2 separate regions of the Homo sapiens genome follow, and region 2 is linked to region 1. The links are contacts of gene promoters, found by promoter capture Hi-C in human tissues and cell types (Jung and others, 2019). All regions are on one chromosome and are shown on one strand. The core of a region is centred on a gene start or on the middle of the fragment in contact, and the rest is flanking DNA. Distances in the headings are between cores, read along the strand shown. Region 1 holds the start of ADGB (androglobin). Region 2 overlaps ADGB (androglobin).

Region 1 (4,355 bases), core at 111-2,610:
TAGAGGAATGGAAGCCATTAGACAACGCTGAAAAGACCTGACTTTGGTACACAGAAGTAAAGCAATCCTATTAAAATTACATATGTAATATTTATATAAAATTATATATGTAATATTACTTATATATGTAATATCTAAAATTTAAGCTAGTAAAAGGAATGGATTATCTGCCGGGTAACTGGAAACCTGCTTATGAGAGAGGTTAGAACTAAGGGACTAGAGATTCACAGACATGGGAATGAGTCTGGGAGAAGAATTCACAAAGAAAAAGAGTTTAAATCCTAGGGATCAGTGAATCATAGGGATCAGTCCAATGTGGAATTCTTCAGCCAGGGAAGGAAATGGAGAAACAGGCATCAAGGATGTAAGAATTCAATTTGAAATGATTGATTGCATCGCCCTCCCCATCAGGCAGAGCATGAAGAACATGAATGATCCCACTGAAGCAGGGCGGGCAGCTGGGATTCTCTCACAGTGGGAATGAACATTAGAAATGGTGTAAGTTCAAACAGCCCCAATCCTATGCTGTGGATAACTGGATATCCCTAGGGAAACAGACCACAGAAAATAATAATCATGGGGAAGTACATCCTAAGACACAACACCTAACACCAGCCCAGGACAAAGGCACCATAAAAATTCCATGAGCGAGGGTCTGTTTACTTTCTCAGAGTAAATGTTAGTAACATGAACTATACATTTATAATGTTTTAAGGTTTAGAAGCCACTTTACGTCTGACTATATCTGATTAAAGATCGTAGTCGTTGGACTGGGCAGATGCAAACTAGAAAATCACCATTAAGGTGAAATGTGTCCATGTCTGTCTGTCACTCGCTGTCTGTATCATTTCCGGGGCCATGAAGATGTGGCTTTAACCAGAAGTATTTGAGATATGCCTCTTTCTTAGGAAAGCTATGGCCTTTCTAACTGCCTGAGAGGGCTATGAAGAAGAGGAGGGGTGGCAGATTCACCCATGGGAGCTGAACACCCAAAGCAAGAAAATCAGGGGCTCTGGGAAAGGAAGTGAGTCAAGACAAGCAAGAGAGAAGGATGAGAGCGAGCACCTCCAGGATCTGGTTTACCAGAGAAGACAAGCTGCGAGGAGGCCACTAAACTTCTGCCCTGGCACAGTTTGCTGCAGGGAGGCAGCCCCAGAACTAGTGGTGAGGTCGAGGGGCTAGGCCAGGGGAGGGACGGACAGGCAGAGGTCCCTTACTCTTTCGATTTATCCGATCCGTGCGCCGAGTTGATACGATGCACCTCTTTCTTTTTGGTTTGTTTGGAGGCCATGGCAGAAGCCGATCTATGTAGGGCTGAGCTCTGAGCAAAGAGCCTGCGGGCGCGCTCGGCTCCGCGTCTGCGTTGCCAGGAGACGGCGTCCCGCGTCCAGCGCCCGGAGAGCGGGGGCGGGGCCCTGGGGGCGGGCTCTGCGGCCTGTGGCTGCAGAGGGACGCAAGAGCATAAACTGAAATCCCACATCCCCGTGGAGGAACTTGGAGTTGGTGTCTGGGGAGAAATCGAGGTTCTGGGGCACGGGTTTGGCATTAGGATTACTGGGCAGCCCTGATTAATTGGAGTTCTGCAGGACCTACACTGCCTGGCTTTGCCCTTCGGAACCATAGACATATATCGACTCTTGAATATCCAACTATTTGAACGTAGATGTTATCCTAGTACCACCCCAGTTATTCTCTTGGCTAAATATAACAAGTACCTTCAATAATTACTAAGGAGACATTACAGACACGCTGAAATTGTCAATGGCTTGAAAACCTGGGGTCCAGAAATTAACACAGTGGGTGTAAGGAAGGCAAAATAATGACACCTTGAGTCGCTGAGGGCTAGGTGATGATATCTGTAATAAAACCAATAAGGTGTCTTGTTGTTCGAATGAAAGAGTGAGTCCAAGTCATGGGCTCAGGTGGTCCTTTGCAGACTTTCCAGAAAAGGTCCAGGGGCCAGATGACACAGACAGAACCAAGTAAAATGAAACTTATTAGGGCGCAGGCTTAAGGCTCAGTCATCAGTGGTGATTTGTTAGTTATCTTGCCTTGGGCTAGTTTTTCCCTTTGAGTCTCAGTTTACTCACTTATAAATAGGAGATGCCTATTACTCACTTATAAATAGGAGTTATACCTAACTCACAGTTCTGTTTTGAGGATAAGATGCAAAGCGCAGCAAATAGGAGCCACTCTTTCAGAGATGACAGACCACCTGGTTTCGAGGAGCAGCAGACAGCGTGAATGAATGAAGTTGGCCAGGTAAATACAGAGTAGTGGATACTATGCTTAACTGAGACATGCTTAGACTGCAAGAGCTTGCAAATTTATCAAAACAAAACAAAATATTGTGTTGGTTCAATATAACCTCACTTCAGAGATATCTGACACACAGCCCTTAGGCCTAGGACCACTACTACTGGTTGGTGTCTTTCATGAGCCTAGAAATAGTTAAGTATCTTTAAATAAAAGAAATCCCCTCCACTCATGGGACTGGGCACATGCTCACAGTTCCACCTGTGCAGGCAAGAGGCAGCTTCCTGCAGAGAAAATCTTTCAACTTCTCTGACAAATGAATGCTCAGGGCTCTCCACTCAGCATAGCCTATGGTTTGTCAGACTATCCCAATCTTATTACTATTGGATTACTACTGGGGGTTACCTAGATGACAGACAGCCCCTTCGTTGTATTTCTATATGCAAAATAAATAAATTCCAAGTCAGCAGTGTTAATATTATGACTACAAGACTGCCCTGCAAACATCTCCTATATATGTAAAGACAATGAACACATCATGAAGATTCTGCTTTGTTTATACCATAATTCAAATTTCCAGAGAACTCTCTTGAATGAAAGTAGAGGACTAAATGGTGAGAAAAATTATTTACTACCAAATTTTGTCAGAGTAATCAAATTTATAGCTATAAGTATATACAAAGACTCTTGGCTGAAAACAGCACAACTTTAAGCAGCCAACCCCACAGAGAGGTGAGTTTCTTCTTGAACAAGGGCTATCCTGCAGCCATTGTTAATGGCTGCAAGATGCCAAAAGAATTAGGGAAGATAAGCCTTAGAAATCAAAAGATCTACATCCCACCGGTATTTTATGGACAAATAACTCCAGGCGAAGACAAGCAAAATGTCTTGCCAAAAGTTGCTGGGTTATTTATTGATGGAATTTGGACTAAACACATTAAAGTCAGCATTGCCAGTTTAAGCCAAACATATCACTACTCCACTCAGAGCTTGCTTTTTAAACATCTATTAAATTAGGATAAAGTAAGGGGGTTGTCACCAGAATGGAATAAGATAATCATAAAAGATGTGACGAGTATAAGTTGCCTATTAATTCCTACGCCAGTGTTCTTTCTCCTTTATTATATTAAGAGTGCAACATGCATAAATGGAATTTCTCTTCTTTCTGGAGCTAAGGTTCTGGTCAGGCTGTAATTATAAGAGCAAATCTGTTCCTCTCTAAGATAGTTCTAGCTACAAAGCTTAACATGATATTTATTGTGGCAGTGCAAAAAAGACAATAGGTCCTACTGCTGTTTTTATTTTTCTTATAACTGTTGTCAATGTCACTTTGGAATAATAATAATAATAGCTGTGATTTATTGAGTACCTACTACATGCAAGGTTTAGGGAAGGGTGCTAACTCCTTTAGAGATAAACTTGAATTTAAATCCTGACTCTTGTTGGGTAATTATGGGTGAGTTATTTAACTTCCATTTTCTTTATTTGTGGAAAGGGAAGAATAATACCTCAAATATGCTTGACTCATCCCAAGCATTCAGAGAATTATAGCTAATGTTATTATTCCACAGGTAAAGAACTGAAATGCAGACAGGAAATGGGACTTGCCTGACATGGAGCAGGTGGTAGGTGGCAGAGGAAGATTGGCCACTCCATAACCTGTGCTCTCTCCAATTCTCTGGACTAACTGTCCATACAGATGATTGCCCTGGGACTGAGCTTAGGGATTTCCAAACTCTTGCTATTTAACAACTGTCAAAGACTGAGAAACAGGGCTTATATTTTATTCAAGCTACCCAGAATAGGGCCTCTCTCTAATCTATACTTCCTTTTCGGGGAAGAGATATTTGGCTTCAGGCAGCAGTAGCGCCTGCTCCCTAGGGAAGTGGTTAGAGGTACCCACTTCCCCATATCAGCAGAAACAAAACAGGCAGGAGTCTCTCTGCTTGAGGATCTGCCTAAATAGGGAAGTGAGAATTGGCAACCACTTCTCCCTCCACCAATGGGAATCCTAGATGGAGGGAACTGGGTGGGAGATGGCAGGGGTGGGCAGAGTGGCAGCATTTCTGTTTCTTAAATCCATAACTCCATCTTCAGAC
Region 2 (5,112 bases), core at 2,118-4,617, 65 kb before region 1:
AGTATATATATAAGTGTGGGAGACCTGCACATGCCACCCCAAAATATGAAGGACTGCTGAGCTACAGGCAATCCCTATGAAGAAGCAGATACACAGAAACTCTGTTTTCCCTCTATTTGCCTAAAAGCAAGATATAGATTTACAAAAACCAAGAGGTATCCTGCCCCTCACTCCCTTGTGCCAGAGAGAACAGGTGTTAACCACTGAAGACAGCTTTGGACCCTTACTGGCCTGAGGAATTGTACCAGAGGAATCTACATGAACAGCCTTTCATAACTAGCCTTTATCTATCATTTATTTGCCTTCCCACAAGTTGCCACCTGTAGAGGCTCAAAGTCATTTTCTTTTGTCTTGTCACTTCTGTAAAAATTGACTGTTCTTTGTTGTAGATTTCCCATGGAAATCCACATGGTAATAAACTTCTGTGTGTTTTTCTCTTGTTAATGTGTCTTCTGTTACAGGAGTCGGTTCCAACAAAGAACCTATGGGGGTCATTGTTCTCCTACATAAGGAAATAGAATTTACCCTGAAATTCCCAAGGAACTTTATATAATACTACAAAACGATATTTTCCCCCAAATTTTGCAAAACATGACCTTTCTTGAAATTTTCTTAAAGGCTAGGAATATTTTAAAGAAATCTTGGGAAGATAAAAAAAATAGATATGAGCAATTTAATAGTCAAACATACTGAAGAGAAATGACTTCTGGTAACCATCCTGTGAGCGCATGAATAACCGTGAACTCCCCCAGCTCTCTCCTGTCTGCTACATGGATGCTAAAAAAGAACATGCATAATGTTACAGGTAGCAAAATTTGAAAACACATAAAGATATATAAGAACTAGGAATCATTAATAAACAGCAATATATTCTGATTATTCATTATAGACTGTATTAAAAAATACTATCCCAGAAGCCAAATTATTTGTTAAAACACTGAAGTAGGATTTATAATATAATTAATTTCATTTGTATTTGCAAGGCATGTTTATATGCTTTATTTTTTAAGATCTAAAAGTAATATTAATGCTATATACATGAAATATATTCACATTATATATTATGAAATATATAATTAGAATATAATCCATTTTTGTATACTTCTTTTAAAAACAGAACAGTCTCTTTTATCATTCTGATTTCAGTAATTATTTTAAGATGTCTTTGAAGCTGTGTGTTAGATCAGTCTCATCTATGGCAAGTCAAGATGGGCATCAGAAATCCTTAGATAACTGTGGAGAAACCAGAAACATCTGTTCTGTCCTGTACAGAAGAGTGGATCTGTCAGCTTAGCATAAAGTAAAACGAGGATATGATTAACCAAGTATCACTATTCTCATTTAGACCTCTTATTTTTTTCCCTGAAGTTATTAGTCTATTTACATTTACATGCAAAAATGCCATATCTCCCTTCTGCCCGGGAGTCACGGCTTCAGCTGACTATCCGTCAGTGGTAGTGTTAATGGCATTACCAACACATGTGTGCCTTTCTTCAGAAAGAAATCTTACTATCTTAGTCACATATGCCATTATTTTAAAATGTGCACTGTTTTGTTGTTTATGGATTACAAATTTCTATATGTCTACGTATTTCAAAGATAATAAGTGTCTATTGGGATAGATCCCAGACTAGTCTAAACTCCTCATTGGACAAATTTATGAAGTGACTTTGCAAATCAAATAGAAATAATGCTCTTTTCTGTGCATATCTCACATTGACATTGAAATTACTATGTGTTAATTTGGAAAATGTAGTAAGCTAATCCTCATATAAAAGCAATCACTATGTACTGTAAAAATCTGAAAAAAATTATGGAAAAATATAAATTGTACCATGTAGGGAAACTTTCCACCAGAATTCCCAAGAAATGTATTACACTTAGCTTGTTGCTTTATTTACTAATTGGATTTTTTAAACAATAATAATAACCCTAATACTTATGTTGCTATAAATTTCTACTGAACTACAGCTTTAAGAAAGATAAAATACCACTCCAATTATCCAGGTCATGTATTCAATGCCTCACTGCTCTAGCAGCTCTGATTCTCAGAACTTCAAGTTATGTCTGAGAACTAGAAACATTCAGAACATTTTTTTTTCCCAAATAAATGAACATGCCACCGGTATGAATACTTAGTGCTATTCAGCTACCTACAAAGATCTGGGCTGAGTTTTTATGAAAATCATTGCAATTAAGTGCTAAAAGCTGGGTGAAACTAATTCCCAAAGGAAAACTGAGGGCTGGTAAGGAAAAAACAGATATGAAGAGGATGGCAGTAGGAGTGGTTGTTTTTGTTTTGTAGCCTTGGGAGAGAAAAATGAAGCTGTGCCTAAAGAAAATCCACACAAAGCAGGCCTGACTTCTGACTAACATTGCAATGTTTATAGAAGGGGAGGGGGCTGAGCTGTGAGCAAATCTCTAACATGTACTGTTAAAGCATGTGGGTGTGTCCTGTTAAATATCGAGAATCTTTGACAAACTGCAGGAGGTGGACGTGTATAAAATCCCAGCCTGTGCAATGTATGTGAGCATCTTCCAGTGAGCAATGAGGCAAAATTGCCATGCATTTCCAACACGATCATCAAAGATTTTTTGCATTGTTAGGGCCAGGATGGTATGACTCCTTTTCTCTGGAAGTGTAAGCTGAGGGAATAGCACATAGCAGATGTGTCTCATATATGTTGGTGCACAAGTCAGGCAGGAATATAAGACAGAAACCAATTTTGTAAGAATACTGAAGAAAATATGAGTAGTTTTCATCATGAATGTATCAAAAGTGAGCAATGTTACCAAAATCATGAAGCGTACATTGACATCTTTCAGAAAAGTTCAGGTTTTTCAAGATTAGTAAATTATTGCTGCATATACAGAACCTAAATCTTTAACTAGATTTCAGGATATATTATTCAGTATTTAGATGAACCAATATTTTTCTCCCACAAAACAATTTTTTCTCCTATTAAACAAAACATCATTTTCCATGATCAAATTTCCATTCATAGTAAGACAGCACTGAACATAGAATAATTCTTGGGTATATTTTTCTTGGAGGAATTTTGCATTATTGTTAACCTAATAGAAAAAATCAGTGGTTTTGGCGTATTTGATTTTATACTAGAGCATTACATTGTTTAGGGGAAAAAGCTGTCTTTTAGCTAATTTTAAAAAAATAAATTATGCAATACAAATGTATAGTTAATGTTTTTGTTTGCTTTTTTTATTCATGTGAGTGATAGTGTCATTACATACTCAATATTTGCCAGCTTGATAATAGCTTTAGACAAAAGCATTGGCCACAGTTCAAATTCATAAGTTGTAGCTGGAAGCAATAGATTGTTATCTTCATCAAAAGGCAAAAAGTCATCAATTGTTATCTTTCTCCAGCAACCCTAAAAATAAGATGAAAGAAATGTAATACCATCAATGGCTTACAGTCTTTTCTCTCGTAAATGATTGCACGTGGCTGACATTACTATTTACCGTTTTCCAATTTTATTTTAGCATCTTACACTGAAAGACGGAGATACTGGATTTCAATACTACTCTGGTTGAATATGTTAGCTTATTGCTTTATTTAGCATAATCACAGCTCACCCATGTCTATATCAATATTGTCTTTACTTATGAGGTCTTGTGAACAAAGTCTTGGGAGTCCCTTACTGCATAATGCAGGAAATTGAGGTGTTTCAAGGACCAGAACCAAAACATTATACAACCATGGATAAGCTTGGACATAATCAAATAACTTAACATAGTCAAAATACAAATTCTCCAAATATAACTTTAGTAATTATTGCTTATCTTGATGTATCCTCACTGATCTTACACTTCCAATTCTCATATTATTCCTGCTCCTAATTAATTTCTTGATCAACAAGAAACCACAGAGAAATAAGCCAGATGCAAAAGGATAAATACTGTATGATTACTGAACATGTATATCTATATTGAACATATCTATCCTGAACATATAAAAAATACGTTTGCGTGCATGTGTCTATGTGTGTATACATACAGAATGTTTCTCCCCAAAATTCATGTGTTGAAATCCTAATGCCCAAAGTGATAGAATTAGGTAAAAAGGAGGGTAAAGCCCTCATGAATGGGATTTGTGCCCTTTTAAGAAGTTGAAGAAACCAAAGTTTTTCTCTTCCACCATGGAATTTTATGGCAAGAAAATGGCCAGCCATTTATGAACCAGGGAGCAGGGCTTTGCCAGACACCAAATCTACCAGTGCCTTGATCTCACACTTCCCAGCCTCCAGAAATATAAAAAATAAATTCTTGCTGTTTATAAGTCACCAGTCTATAGTATTCTGGTATAGTAGCCTTAGTTGTTACAAGACTAATATTATTAAGGTTATATATACTTATATATATATAAAAAACCTTAATATTATTATATATAATATATAATATATAATAAATATATATTATATATTTATAATTATATATATAATTATATATTTATTATATTTATACTATAATTACATATTTATATAATTATATAAATATATGACCTTAATAATAAGATTATTTTGATCTATATTATTAAGATTATATAAAATTATGAAGATATATATTATTAAGATTAAGATATATATTATATACATTATAACATATATATTTATATGTGTAATATATAACATTATTAAGTTATATATATATTATATATAAGAAGATTGTGGAATGAAGTCTTATTATCTGGGTAGCAAACAAAAGTGGCAGACCAGAATAGTACATCAGAGGCTTTATAAACTAAACTGGCATTTGAGACACAGCCGATAAATGTGAGCCAGGATGTGCCTTCTGAATCTAAACACGTTGACTACTTGCTAAAATATAAAACTAATTAGCAATCAGAGTTGTAAAACATAACACTACAAATATTCAGGAAACTGTATAAAATTACCTATCATACCAAAACCCAGAAAAGTCTCAATTTCAATGGGAAAATACAGTCGACAGGCCACAAAACCAAAATGACAGAGAAATTAGAATTATTAAATAAGAAATTTACAGCAATTCTCACAAAAATGTTCCAACAAGCAATTATGAACACTCTTGAAACAAATTCAAAAATAGAAACTCTCAGCAAAGAAATGGAAG

The links. The method cuts DNA at HindIII sites, captures the fragments that hold promoters and counts their contacts. A contact is called where the count stands out against the background at its distance.
Region 2: a fragment that was not itself captured here is called in contact with the fragment with the promoter of ADGB in region 1 in 4 of the 25 tissues and cell types used here (bladder, dorsolateral prefrontal cortex, mesenchymal stem cells and 1 more).

What each region holds. Positions count from the first base shown.
Region 1 is chr6:146,595,977-146,600,331 of GRCh38, reverse strand. It overlaps ADGB (androglobin), which reads right to left and starts at 1,360. Exons shown (of 36, transcript NM_024694.4): 1 at 1,218-1,360. The coding sequence starts at 1,291. It overlaps ADGB-DT (ADGB divergent transcript), which reads left to right and starts at 1,401. Exons shown (of 3, transcript NR_125860.1): 1 at 1,401-1,499; 2 at 2,161-2,262; 3 at 3,828-4,355. RefSeq lists a silencer at 1,265-1,559. The HindIII fragment of the contact is 7,954 bases long and covers 1-4,355 here.
Region 2 is chr6:146,662,481-146,667,592 of GRCh38, reverse strand. It overlaps ADGB (androglobin), which reads right to left. Exons shown (of 36, transcript NM_024694.4): 6 at 3,253-3,392; 7 at 691-777. Among named protein-coding and RNA genes, the nearest start is that of ADGB, 66 kb to the right of the region's middle. The HindIII fragment of the contact is 5,946 bases long and covers 395-5,112 here.